Linked DNA regions of Homo sapiens: regions 2 and 3 are each linked to region 1. The links are contacts of gene promoters, found by promoter capture Hi-C in human tissues and cell types (Jung and others, 2019). All regions are on one chromosome and are shown on one strand. Each heading gives the region's core, a stretch centred on a gene start or on the middle of the fragment in contact. The rest is flanking DNA. Distances are from core to core; before and after follow the strand shown.

Region 1 (4,496 bases), core at 1,739-4,238:
AACCCAGGAGGCAGAGCTTGCAGTGAGCGGAGATCGCACCACGGAACTCCAGCCCGGGCGACAGTGCGAGACTCCGTCTCAAAAAAAAATTATTTTAATATATTTTTTGAGACAGGGTCTCACTCTGCTGCCCAGGCTGGAGTGCAGTAACACAATTTAGGCTCACTGCAGCCTCAACTTCCCAAGCGATCCTCCCACCTCATCCTCCCGAGTAGCTGGAACTAGAGGCACGCACCACCACAGCAGGCTAATTTTTGTATTTTTTGTAGAGATACGGTTTTGCCATGTTGCCCAGGCTGGTCTCGAACTGCTGGGCTCAAGCAATCCGCCCACCTCAGCCTCCCAAAGTGCTGGGATTATAGGAGTGAGCCACTGCACCCGACCATATTTCCTTTAATAGTGGGCTGTAGGCTTGAAGAAAATGGGCTCTGTGTTACATGCATGATATGGAAGGTACAGTTTACCAAGGACACTCAGCAGAGCAAACCAGGAGCTATCCCTAGGGTGAGTGGGTTGGGGTACAGGGAACACAACTTCTTGGCCTCATACTCCTCATAGGAGCCAGCTTGGTTTGAGGCACTAGAATTCCACTGGTCTGGGGTAAGAGCCAGATCTCAAGATCTCAAGAAGCCCCAGGAGAGCACTGAGTAAGCCATTGATCCCCCACTCTGAGCTAGGACTTTGGGTTTTCTTCCATGGGGAAGAATATGCTCCGTGTGTGTGGAGAAAAGAGAAATGAATGCTGGTGACGAGAAGGGCAGACTGGGGAAGCCCTCAGGACTTCCCAAAGTTCCTATTCTCCTCCTTCTGGGCATGTGGAAAGACCGTACCTCCTTGCTCTTTGAAGTTAGGTAGGACTTACTTTGAACCATGAAACAGTAGCGGAAGTGATGTTTATCATTTCCTGGTGGAAGCTCGCGCATGACTCCCCACATCCTCTTCCTTCTTCTAGAAGGAAGCAAGTGTTGCTATGGAGGCTCCATCAGCCTGGCTCCATTAACCACAAGGAGCAGATCCCCAATACCCCTCCCCAACCCAGAAACCTGCTTTAGACTTGAAAGTGACTCATAAGCCTTCGTTGTTTTAAGCTACTGAAGTTTTGGCACTGTACGTTATTGCAGCCTAACCTTGCCTATCCTGACTGGCACACCCAGAATAAATGGTGTAGTTATGAAAGATGCCTTTTTTTAGAATCCTTTGTCTAATCTTTTGTCTATACCTGGGTTCCCATTACAATTTCTTACTATGACATCAGTGAGTGTCATGTTGCTAAATTGTCTGCATGTCATATGATAGTAACAAGACATCCCACATGTATGATCAGTTGCAATTATGTAACAATGTAGACAAAGCCAATCACTTCAATTCTCAAAAAAGGCTGAACACCATAGCTAGGATGTGGAGAGATGGAAAAAGTGTCATTTACAATGACAAAAAAAAAAGAAAAAGAAAAAACCATAAAGCATCATAGATTAATTTTTTTTTAACGTGCAAAAAATAGAAAGAAAACTACAAAGCCTACCTGAAAAGACACCATCAATAGAGCTTAGTAAATACCAGGAAACACACACACACACATACACACACACACACTCACACACACACCTTCCCCAAGGTCACATGGCTGGTAAGTGGCAGGAGGTAGAATTTGAATACAGTCAGCTTCCTTAACCACCACCAAGAATAGGATGGGTGAGCTTTTTCTATAATGGGCCAGACAGAAAACATTAGAGGTTTCTAGGTCATCTGGATTCTGTTGCAACTACTCAAATCTAGCTCAAAAGCAGCCAATGGACAATATATAAACAAATGGGTGTGGCTGTGCTTCAATAAAACTTTATTTACAAAAGCAGATAGCCATCTGGATTTGAATCATGGGCCCATAGTTTGTTGACACATGATCTAGAATAACAAATCCTTGAAGATAGTCAAGGCTTTTGGGGGGAAAACTAATAACAAGCAGAGACTTGCTCTATCAGATATCAGCACATAAAGCTACAAAAATTATTTGGAATTGCATTATATTTATGTATCAATTTAGGATGACTATGTAATTTATGTAATTTAGTTTACAGAGAATATTCATTTATGATTTTGAGTCTTCCTATTCAGGAATATGGTATTTCTCTACTGTCACTCAGATCTTGAGAAACAATTTAACAGGGTGGGGGGTGGGAAGGAGCTCCAGGCCAATTTTTAGAAGAAATCCTACCTAACACCAGACATGTAAATAGAATGTCAGAGGACCAAAACCACTAACACCCTGAGATATGTGTCAATTGCGTCCATTCAGACTTTGGTCCAGTTCTGTGAGGGACAACGGCAGGGTCGACCTAAGATGGGGCGTTTTATAGGAAATGTTTCCCATGTTAAGCTGAACACCAAAAGGCTTCACCTTCTGCGATATATGAATAGATTTAAACCCTTCCCCCACACCCAAGGAGACTAGGCTGCTGTGGGCCTCAGCAGAGCAGAAGGGTAAAGAAAGACGGCCCTGAGAATCACATCCAAAAACCAGCCCTGGCAAAGCGCAGGGGCTCACACCTATCATCCCAGCACTTTGGGGGGCTGAGGCGGGTGGATCACCTGAGGTCAGGAGTTCAAGACCAGCCTGGCCAACATGGTGAAACCCGTCTCTACTAAAAATACAAAAAATTAGCCGGGCATGATGGCAGGTGCCTGTAATCCCAGCTACTCGGGAGCCTGAGGCAGGAGAATCACTTGAACCTGGGAGGCGGAGATTGCAGTGGGCCAAGATCGCACCACTGTACTCCAGCCTGGCAACAGAGCGAGACTCTGTCTCAAATAAAACAAAAACAAAAACAAAAAACAAATACGTACAGTTAAAAGACTTAAGTCACAACATACATCCATGAGCAATTTTAGATGGCAGCATTCCCAAAGCCATCCACCCCTCCCAAGCAGTGCACAATAGCCTCTTCCTGATGACTTAGGCTGCCCATTGTGACCACCGGTGACTGCAGCTTGACATCATAGTATATCCGTGAGTCAAGCGGCTGTGGGTTTTTGGCTCTTGCATCTGCTATAGTTCTGTCTCGGGTGCCATTTGCTAACTCTGTTCTCTGTGTAGCTGCTTTTGGCAGCTCCTCATCTCTCTTCTAATCCACCACTCACAGTCCTAGAGAACAGACCACAAGTTAAGACCGTCACCTACAGAATCCCAAGGGCCAAAACTGGGCAGAGGACAACTCCATCCTTCTTACAAAAGGGCTTCTCCACAAGAAGCATTTCCGTTAGACTCTAGCAGTGAGATACCCTGCTTCAAGAATTTCTCATGGAGCCAGAAGCCTTTGAAATTTGCCCTTATGATCCTCACCACCGAATCCCACTCAGCAGATTCCAGTACCACCTGGCATCGTGCAGGAGAAAGAACCCCAAGAAAGCCAAAAAGATGGCCACCTGCAAATACAACGCCTGCCACGTGGTCCCCATCAAAAATCTGGAGGAACATGAGGCTGTTTGTGTCAACAGGAGCGCTGTGGAAGAAGAGGACACCGAGAACCCTCTGAAAGTCAGTCCTCCTAGTTCAGAGCAGAACGATGACACCCAGCAGGTCTCACCCTGCCTTCCCAGCCCCGATATCTGGAATGTCGATGGCGCTAATTGCCAGCATGTGTTTGTCCTTAAGACTTTTTTTCCTCAAAAGGTTGTTTGTGAAAATGACACGAAAGAGTCAGCAAGAGAGACCAGTCCCCAGAAGATCCTCAGACCAGGACAGTAAACTGCCAGCTGAGGAAGGAGCACACGCCTCATCAATGCATGGAAGAACGTGCAATGCATCAGAATAAAAGACATGCAAAGTAAACTACCCTGGGCTACCTCTTTTTTTAACCTGGCAGATTGATAAATATCAAAAGGCTTAAAATACTCTGCTGGCAAAGGTAGGGCAAAATGGGCACTTTCATAACATTGGTGAGAATGTCAGTTGGTACAACCTCCACAGAGGGCAATTTGACAATAGCTATAAACATTATCAATGCATACAGGCTTTGATTGAGCAATTCCACTTCCAGGCTTCATTCTGTAAATATAATCACACATGTGGAAAATGAGCTAAGTACTAGCTTATTCACTGCAGCATTATTTGCAGCAGCAAAAGAGTTAGAAATGAGCCAGGTGTGTTGAATCACAGCTGTAGCCTGTTACTCTGGGAGCTGAGGCGAGAGGATCGCTTGAGTTCAGCCTGGGCAACATAGTGAGATCCTGTCTTAAGCAACAAAAAAAAAAGTCAAAAATGACCTAAATATCCATTAAAAGGGCCTGATTAAAAATAAGTTATACTGCAGCCATACAACAAAATATTATGCCGCCTTAAAAAAAGTGAGGAAGCTCTTTCTGTGCTGATATAGAAAGGTTGAGACACACTGTTGAGCTCAGAGGTCAGCAAACTGTTTCTGTAAAAGGCCAGATGGCAAATATCTTAGCCTTTGTCAGCCACACAGTCTGTGTTGCAACTACTCGGCCCTGCCACTGCA
Region 2 (4,701 bases), core at 449-2,948, 270 kb before region 1:
CTACATATTTTATTCTCTTAGATGTTATTATATATGGAATTTTTTTTTAGTTTCCTTTATGGGTTGTTCATTGTTGGTTTACAGAAACACCAGTGATTTTTCCATACTGATCTTGCCCTGAAACTTTGATGAATTAATTTATTAAATATTTGTTATAATTTTAAGGAAAAGCAAAAATTTTACACCATTGGAAGAACCAAAGAAAGTAGAAGAAAACAGAACTTTATCAATCTAGAAAAATCTGCAAAGAAAACAGGAGTGAACTATCAAACATAATAAAGAATATTCATAAAATGGCAGCATTAAGACTAAATATTCATAACATAATACGAATGATTTCAATTGCTTTATTAAAAGACAAAATATTTTTATTAAAATACATACAGCATATGGTTTATAATAGACATGCCTAAAATAAAATGACCTGTAAGATAAAAATAAATAGACACCAGCCGAGCATGGTGGCGCACGCCTGTAATCCGAGAACTTTGAGAGGCCAAGGTGGGTAGATCACCTCAGGTCAGGAGTCCAAGATGAGCCTGGCCAATATGGTGAAACTCCATCTCTACTAAAAATACAAAAATTAGCTGGACATGGTGGCGAGTGCCTGTAATCCCAGCTACTCAGGAGGCTGAGACAGGAGAATCCCTTGAACCCGGGAAGCAGGGGTTGCAGTGAGCTGAGATTGTGCCACTGCCCTCCATCCTGAGTAACAGAATGAGACTCCATCTTAAAATAAATAGATAGATAGATAGATAGATAGATAGATAGATAGATAGATAGATAGATGTATCAGGCCAACAAAAAGCAGAGTGGCAAAATTAATTACAAATTAAGTACAAATCAGGGCAAAAAAGCACTAAAAAATATCAAAAGGAACACTTAAGTCAATAAATGATATAAATCTACTAAGAAGAAATGACAAATTTTTATGTAAATTGATAAAACCACAGAAATATAAAATGTAAAAAACTGTTAGTATAAAACCATAAATAAAATGGGCAAATCAGTCAGATAGAAATGAGTGAGGATTGAGGATCTGAATGACGCAATTCACTCTTTTGATTTATTCCTTTCAAATGTCCATAGAACACTTACAAAATATAACCAGGTAAACTACAAAGAGAATCTCAAACTCTTCAAAAGGTAGAAATTAGATAGATCAAATTCTAAGACCTAACTACACTGATAGGCTTTGGCTTTGCATCCCCACCCAAATCTCATGTCAAATTGTAATTCTCAGAGTTCAGGCAGGGGCCTGGTGGAAGGTGATTGGATCATGGGGGCTGATTTCCCCCTTGCTGTTCTCGTGACAGTAAGTAAGTTCTCACAAGATCGGGTTGTTTGAAAGTGTGTAGCCCTTTCCCCATCTCCCTGTCTCCTGCTGCCATGTGAATATGTGCTTGCTTCCCTTTCACCCTTCTACCATGATTGTAAGTTTCCTGAGGCCTCCCTAGCCATGCCTCCTATAGAGCCTGCAGAACTGTGAATCAATTAAACCTCTTTTCTTTATAAACTACCCAGTCTCAGGTAGTTTTCTAGCAATGTGAGAACAGACTAGTACATGCACCAACCTAGTTATTAACAAAAACAAACGAGCAGAAAAAAAAATGGAGGGAGGGAAATCCTCCTACATACTTAAACACTTTAAGAGCAATCATCTAAGTAACTTCTGTGTTAAAAAGGAAATCACAACTGAAATGATGAGAACACTACCTGACAAAACTTATGAGAGATGGACAATGAAAAATTATACTTTTATCAAAATGAATTTATTAGAAGACAAGAAAGACAAACTCAGCACTCAACTCAAGATGGTAGAAATAGAATAACAAAATAAACCGAAAGTCTGTAGGAGAAAAATAAAATAGAAAACAAATTTTAGATAAGAAATACAAGGAAGAGATTGTTTTTTTGAAAAGGCTAATAAAATAAGGAACCACTGACATGAAAAAAGAAAAAGATACCCAAAAGGGAATGAAAAATATATTAATTCTTTAAAAGCCATTGAGAATTCCTTTGATACAGTATCAGGCTAATTTTGATCAATATTTATAATTTTCAGCTTGTTAATTCTATCATTTAAATCTTCCAAACAACAATTACTTTTCTTTTTCTGCTTGACCCTTTGGTTTCTGAGAGAAATGTGTTAAAAATTTCCACTGTGATTGTGATTTTATCAACCTGCTGTATTGCTTCATATATTTCAAAGCTATGTTGTTAGGTATTTACAAATCAGTTGTTATTGTATCTGCTTGTTGAAGTGTTCCTTTTATTAGTGATGGCTTTCTACTTTATCCCAGTTAGTGCTTACATGAAAGTTCTCAGGCTGCCATTTTGACTATCGATCTCCATTTCCCACCACAATGCTGTATAAGAAAGAGGTGAAGATTCACTGAGGGAGTAGCAGGTGATTTGACCTTTTTCCAAAGAGCTTGTTGAGAGTTGGAGTATAGCATAAAAGGAGAAGTGGCATTCACTCCCTGGTGATGCATGGTGAGAAATGATTCTTGGGAGAACCCAACTTGTGTCCCCAGAGTTGAATCCTGATTATGTATTCCAACAACCTTCCAGCTTTGTTGGGAGGAATATTTGAAATACATGGAAACATGAGGTGCTGTAACTCTCATGTATTGAGAGTTACATTGTTGATCTGCAGAAAGAGCTCTGGCTTTGGAGTTACACTGACATGGGGAATCTTACTTGCTGAGGGCTTCTGGCAATTTATCCAAACTGCCTACTACTCAGTTTCCTTGTCTACAAAACCCCACCTAAGAGCTGAGAGAATTATACCAGGAAACAGATGGGAAAACACATTAACAGGAAGTCAGCATAAATCCCACACACACACACCCAAGCAAGAAAAAAAAAGCCCTCGGATGATATGCAGAACAAGTAGAAAATGGCATTTCCATTTTACAGATGAGGAAACTGAGGTTCAAAAGGGAAAAATGACTTATCCAAAGTCATATGGGTAGCATTTATGAAAATGAGGACAAGAAGCCCTGCCTACCAGTAGCCAAAGCTTTGCTCTGCCACTGTTCAAGCTCCTCCCAACACACACGAGTCCTGGCTAGGCCAGGGCAGGCCTGCTCCACGCCTCTTGTTCCAGTGTCACGTTAATAATGTTTTATTTCACTCTAAACAGTGTCCTGGTTTGGCCAGTAAATTATATGGTCGCCCTACCATCTTGCCATTTTAACAAGTAAAACCCGCACCAGCAAGAACATCTCAGCTACAACATCACCGATCATTAGAGAAATGCAAATCAAAACCATAATGAGATACCATCTCACACCAGTCAGAATAGCTATTATGAAAAAGCCAAAAAATAACAGATCCTGGCAAGGTTGCAGAGAAAAGGTAACACTTACACTGTTGGTAGGAGTGTAAATTAGTTCAACCATTGTGGAAAGCAATATAGCAATCACTCAAAGAACAAAAAGCAGAACTACCATTCAACCCAGCAATCCCATTACTGGATATATACCCAGAAGAATATAAATCATTCTTCCATAAAGACATGTGTACACAAATGTTCATTGCAGGACTATTCACAACAAACATGGAATCAACCTGAATGACCATCAAGGACAGATTGGATAAAGAAAATGTTGTATGTGGTACATATACACCATGGAATACTATGCAGTCATAAAAAAGAATGACATCATGTCTTCTGTAGGAACATGGATGGAGCTGGAGGCCATTATCCTTAGTAAACTAATGCAGGAACAGAAAAGCAAATACCACATGTTCTCACTCACAAGTGAGAGCTAAGTGATAAGAACTCATCAACACAAGAAAAGGAAAAACAGACACTGGGTTCTACTTGAGGGTGGGAGGAGGGAGAGGAGCAGAAAAAATAACTAATGGGTACTAGGCTGAATACCTGGGTGACAAAATAATCCGTACATCAAATCCCCACGACACAAGCTTACCTATATAACAAACCTTCACACGTACCCCTGAACCTAAAATAAAAGTTTAAAAAAAGCCATCTCTGCTAAAAGACTGTAGTGCGATTCAGTGTTTCTCAACTCTGTTTTCACAACAGAAAATGACATCTTATCAAAACTCCAAACCCCAACAACTGGAGCTGAGCTCCTAGCACTGTAACTTCTTATCACGGGTATAGTGATTTTATGAATTCTGCGGGGAATGAAATGCAATTTTGTCAGGCTTGTCTGTGTCCATAATGACCGAGTCAAATTAATCATCTCAGATAATACCCCTATGTCACCCACCCCAGACATGTTTAATAGAATCTTTCTGATTCGAGTCTCACCATACATCAGATCTGGAGTATTGTAGCACTTCTGAAAATCAGGACAATTATGCCTTTTGCTTGGCCTGTCATTTTCCTGGACTAAAAATGCTTCTTAAAAAATAAAAAACTAAAAGTCCATACCATATATAAGCCAAACAGGAGAGAAAAGCCATACCGGTAAAATGAAGCGTGGATTCTGGAGGAGGTGGGGGAGGGGAATGTAATATCTTTTCTCAGCCTTTATCTACAGGCAGAACCTCCAAGCCGAGCCAGGCCACTCACACAGGAGTGCATCTAACACCCTCCCACCGGCAGTGTGCCACGCTGCCAGCCACGGCTGCTCTGTGGCTGTTCCTGACCCCGAAATGCTTGGATCAGGGCAGACAGAGGCATCATAGTGGGACAATGACAGGCAGTCACATTAGACAGGA
Region 3 (4,497 bases), core at 1,398-3,897, 470 kb before region 1:
AGTCTCCTGTCCTTCATCCTCCAAAGTTTATACATTGCAGTACAATAGCGTCTTCTTCCAGCAGTCAACTCAAGCACAAAAGCCAGACTGACTCACCTGATGGCAGCAGTGGGCTGGGAATTTCATCCCCTAAAGAGTTCAGTGCAGGAGAAAGCTCTACTTCTCTCGATGCTAATCACACAGGGGCAGTCGTTGAGCCTTTGAGAACTTCTGTTCCAAGGCTCCCATCAGAGAGTAAGAAGGAAGACTCCTCTGACGCTACCCAAGTCCCCCAAGCAAGTCTCAAAGCCAGTGATCTCTCTGACTTTCAATCAGTTTCCAAGCTAAACCAGGGCAAGCCATGCACATGCATAGGCAAGGAATGCCAGTGTAAGAGATGGCATGATATGGAAGTGTATTCCTTTTCAGGCCTGCAGAGTGTCCCTCCCTTGGCTCCAGAACGAAGATCCACACTTGAGGACTACTCTCAGTCGCTGCACGCCAGAACTCTGTCTGGCTCTCCCCGATCCTGTTCTGAGCAAGCTCGAGTCTTCGTGGATGATGTGACCATTGAGGACCTGTCAGGCTACATGGAGTATTACTTGTATATTCCCAAGAAAATGTCCCACATGGCAGAAATGATGTACACCTGATAGCAAGAAGCTAATTCATATGCTTTAAACCAATGAAGGCTTGTCAAAGAGATTTAGTTAATGGCAGACCTTGTGGCCACTTTGTGTGAGAAGACATCTCTTTCTGCTCACTGTGCTTGCAATAAAAACTTTTCTTGGCATCTCAGTTAATCTTCATTCTTTCAACTTACTCTCTTGAGTTCTTACATACACTTCAAGGCGAGCAGATCAAAGAAAAATCCCCCTTATTTAGAAATGTTCCTGGGGGATGAAGAAACCATAATTACTTGAGACTGGCAGCAGTGGGTATATGGTAAAAGCCTTTGTAAAACAGTGCATTTTTCAGATTTGTTTAAGGTTTGCTAGCCAAGGAAAGTAAAATGTGATTTTGTAACTGCACTAAACATTTGTCATGCTGTAGTTGCCAGCCCAGAATATTAGAAGTTACAAGACTGATTTAAACCGTCTCTGATTTAATGCAAGATATATTGTGTCTATAAAGGTTTCTCTTGTTATTGTTAAGCCAGAGATCTAAGGTTTAGATTCAATTTGAATAAACTAGCTGGCCTGCCCTCTATTGTTTGAGAGAGTTATTAACCATCACTAAATAAGCCCCTGCTGGTGCTATTCATCCTAAGACATGTTACATGCAGTTTCAAGTAAGCAGCTTGGAATGGGCTGCTTCAGTTGGAGGGAGGGGGTGTAATATTTGAAACGAGTGTGTGTCTTCACCATCTCCAGCATTTTAAATATATGGCGGTTTTTTTTTTTTTTTTTTGTTATCAGTTGTAATACAGGTCTCATACCTCAGTTTCAGATGTTATAGATGGTTACCTCTTTGAGCTGCCCTGTCACCCCAGCAACCCTAAAAGAGAATTTTGTACATTCTGTATCCCACAGATTTGGTCAGCCATTTCAAAATTCCCTCCAGTTTGGTAAAAAAAAAATCTGTCTTCGGTTTCAGCTGGATGATGAATCCTTGTTTTTCAGGTGGCTCCAAAAAGAATGTTGCATGTGTTCAGACCATCCTGAGCAGAGCCACCAAATTTAGTGACAGTGTCTAGCCATGTTAGCAATAATGTTAACAGAAGCTTTTGTTTAAATTACAAAATACATTTATACTATTTACTAAAACTGCGCTGGCTGTGGTTGATTCATGATAATGGGATGTGGGCTTCAACAAATAGGTGATTTGTACTTGGGGGAGAGGGGAAGGGTGTTTACTAGAAAAACCCTAAGCTTAAGTAGTAGTGGGAGTCCTCTGCTGGTCATTGGTTTGGTGTGGATTTAGTGACATCTGAAGGCTGTGGTTAAAGCAAGGGAGCAAAATACCTTATCACAGTTCTAGAAGCTGTGACAGATATTTCCTGATAATGGTGACAGAAGGTACACTATTTAGTATATCTAAGGCAGAAATTCTCAAACTTTTTGTAAGCACTTCCTTTACACTGACAAATTCAGGACCCAAAAGGTTTTGTTATAATCTCCAAAAGGATATAAATATTTACCATGTTAGAAATTAAAACTAAGATTTTTTTAAATATTTAAAAACTCATTACAAGCTAACAAAATTTTTGAATGAAAAATAGCTTTTCCAAAACAAAAAATAGAAGAGTGGCATTGTTCTACCTTTTTGCAAATCTTTTTTAATGTTTGGCTTAATTAGAAGACAGATTCTCATATGTTTCTGCATTCAGTCTCTGGGATATCGCATATTGTGTGGTCTCTGGCAAACTTTTGTACACTTGGGAGAATGAATGTGAAAAAGGCAACTACAGGTTGAATATTCCTTATATGAAATGCTTGGGACCAGAAGTGTTTCGGATCTCAGATTTTTTTTAGATTTTGAAAGATTTGCATTACATGCTTATCAGTTCAGCTTCCATAATCCTAAAAGCCAAACTGCTCCAATGAGCATGTCCTTTGCTCCTCATGTCAGTGCTCAAAAAGTTCTGGATTTTGAAGCATTTCAGATTAGGGACCCTCAACCTGTAATGTTTTAGTACCATGTAAATAATTTTGACCTCAGATTTCCTAAAAGGGCCTCAGGGATTCCAGGACCAAAATTTAAGCTTCTGGTTGTAAAGGTACCACCCCGCTTTCACCTCCACAACTAATGTTTTGGCTCACCTTTAAAAAAATTAAAACTGGGCCGGGCACGGTGGCTCACGCCTTTAATCCCAGCACTTTGGGAGGCCGAGGCGGGCGGAACACAAGGTCAGGAGATCGAGACCATCCTGGCTAACGCGGTGAAACCCCGTCTCTACTAAAAATACAAAAAATTAGCCGGGCGTGGTGGCTGGCGCCTGTAGTCCCAGCTGCTCAGAGGCTGAGGCAGGAGAATGGTGTGAACCCAGGAGGCGGAGCTTGCAGTGAGCCAAGATTGCGCCACTGCACTCCAGCCTGGGCAACAGAGCGAGACTCCGTCTCAAAAATAAAATAAAAGCTGTAGAGGAGTGGAGCTATTGTAATTAAGTAGTGAGCTATTCAAGTTCATGTTAAGTGGGCTTAACATGGGCTTAACATGTTCTTTGAATTAAGGCGAGTTCTTAAGCCTTTAAATCCCTTTTAGTTTGTTTTTCAAGCCAGCGCTCTGGTTATTTACTTAGTGCTGTATATTAGTGCAGCAGTCACCAGAGAATGATGATACGTATTCTTTTCATATGAAGGTGTTAGGAGGGTGTAAGTATTGAAAAGCACAAAGTTCCAATGACCTAGTAACTCAAAATCCAACTTGCATGAAAGTTTAGGCATTCCAGATTTGTGGGAATAAGTTGTAAGTTATCTACATCTCAGCAAAATCTTCCTCAAAACATGAATCTTGAAGTTAAAAATTACTCTGCTCAGACCTAATTGGCCCAACTTTAACATTAGGGTCCCTCATTGGGATATTTGACGTTCTTTTGTGAATGTGATGTACCAAACTAATCTCCTTTCTCTGATACATCTAGGAAAATGGATTTGGTTTGTGGATTGAGGGATTAAGTCTCACTCTGATGTTCCAAAAAAGTAACATCCTGATTTCCACATGCCTTTATTTAACAAGTTTTCATTGAACGTTCATTCATTCATTCATTCATTCATTCATTCAATAAATATCAAGTGCTTACAACACACCAGGGACACTGTACTAGATTCTGGGAATGGAACAGTAAGCAGAACAATATCCTTGTCCTCAGTAGAGAGAGGTGATGAACATGTAAGTTGTATGGAGAGAAAAAGAATTAGGAGATAGGAAGGGGTGGGCCAGGGATAGGGTTGCTATTTGGGGTGGGCAGAGAAGATGCTGTGATAAGGTGACATTTGAGCAGAGACCTGAAGGAAGTAAGAGAGTGAGCCATGGGGGCATCTGAGGGAGGGGCATTCTTGGCAGAAGGAACCACAGGGATGTCAATGCAACTTGAGCAGGTGGGGTCAGAGAGAGATGAGTAGGGCCAGATCATGGAGGGCCTGGTAGGCTATTTTAAAGGTGTTGGCTCTTTGGCTCTTACTGTGAGAGATAGGGAGTCATTTGGGGAAGCAGAGGAGAGAGACATGACCAGACTTAACTTTTTTTTTTTTTTGAGACAGAGTCTTGCTCTGTCACCCAGGCTGGAGTGCAGTGGCACGATCTCAGCTCAGTGCAACCTCCACCTCCCGGGTTCAAGCAATTTTTGTGTCTCAGCCTCCCAGGTAGCTGGGATCACAGGTGTGCACCACCATGTCTGGCTAATTTTTTTGTATGTTTAGTAGGGACAGAGTTTTGCCACTTTGGCCAGTCTGGTCTCAAACTCCTGACCTCAGGCAGTCTGCCCACCTTGCCCTCCAAAAGTGCTGGGATTACAGGCATGAGCCACCATGCCCAGCCGAGACTTAACCTTTTGAAAGAGCACTGGCTACTATGTGC

What was found. The method cuts DNA at HindIII sites, captures the fragments that hold promoters and counts their contacts. A contact is called where the count stands out against the background at its distance.
Region 2: a contact is called between a fragment that was not itself captured here and the fragment with the promoter of GTSF1L in region 1, in 2 of the 25 tissues and cell types used here (mesenchymal stem cells and spleen).
Region 3: a contact is called between a fragment that was not itself captured here and the fragment with the promoter of GTSF1L in region 1, in 2 of the 25 tissues and cell types used here (lymphoblastoid cells and spleen).

What each region holds. Positions count from the first base shown.
Region 1 is chr20:43,725,494-43,729,989 of GRCh38, reverse strand. GTSF1L (gametocyte specific factor 1 like) reads left to right here and starts at 2,988. Exons shown (of 1, transcript NM_176791.4): 1 at 2,988-3,826. The coding sequence starts at 3,296. The coding sequence ends at 3,742. It overlaps LOC101927200 (a long non-coding RNA gene), which reads right to left and starts at 1,071. Exons shown (of 4, transcript XR_936741.3): 1 at 863-1,071. The HindIII fragment of the contact is 17,400 bases long and covers 1-4,496 here.
Region 2 is chr20:43,994,809-43,999,509 of GRCh38, reverse strand. All of the region lies in intron 2 of TOX2 (TOX high mobility group box family member 2), which reads right to left. Among named protein-coding and RNA genes, the nearest start is that of TOX2, 82 kb to the right of the region's middle. The HindIII fragment of the contact is 3,567 bases long and covers 1-3,481 here.
Region 3 is chr20:44,193,187-44,197,683 of GRCh38, reverse strand. OSER1 (oxidative stress responsive serine rich 1) reads left to right here. Exons shown (of 4, transcript NM_016470.8): 4 at 1-1,745. The coding sequence ends at 632. Among named protein-coding and RNA genes, the nearest start is that of JPH2, 8.2 kb to the right of the region's middle. The HindIII fragment of the contact is 3,940 bases long and covers 678-4,497 here.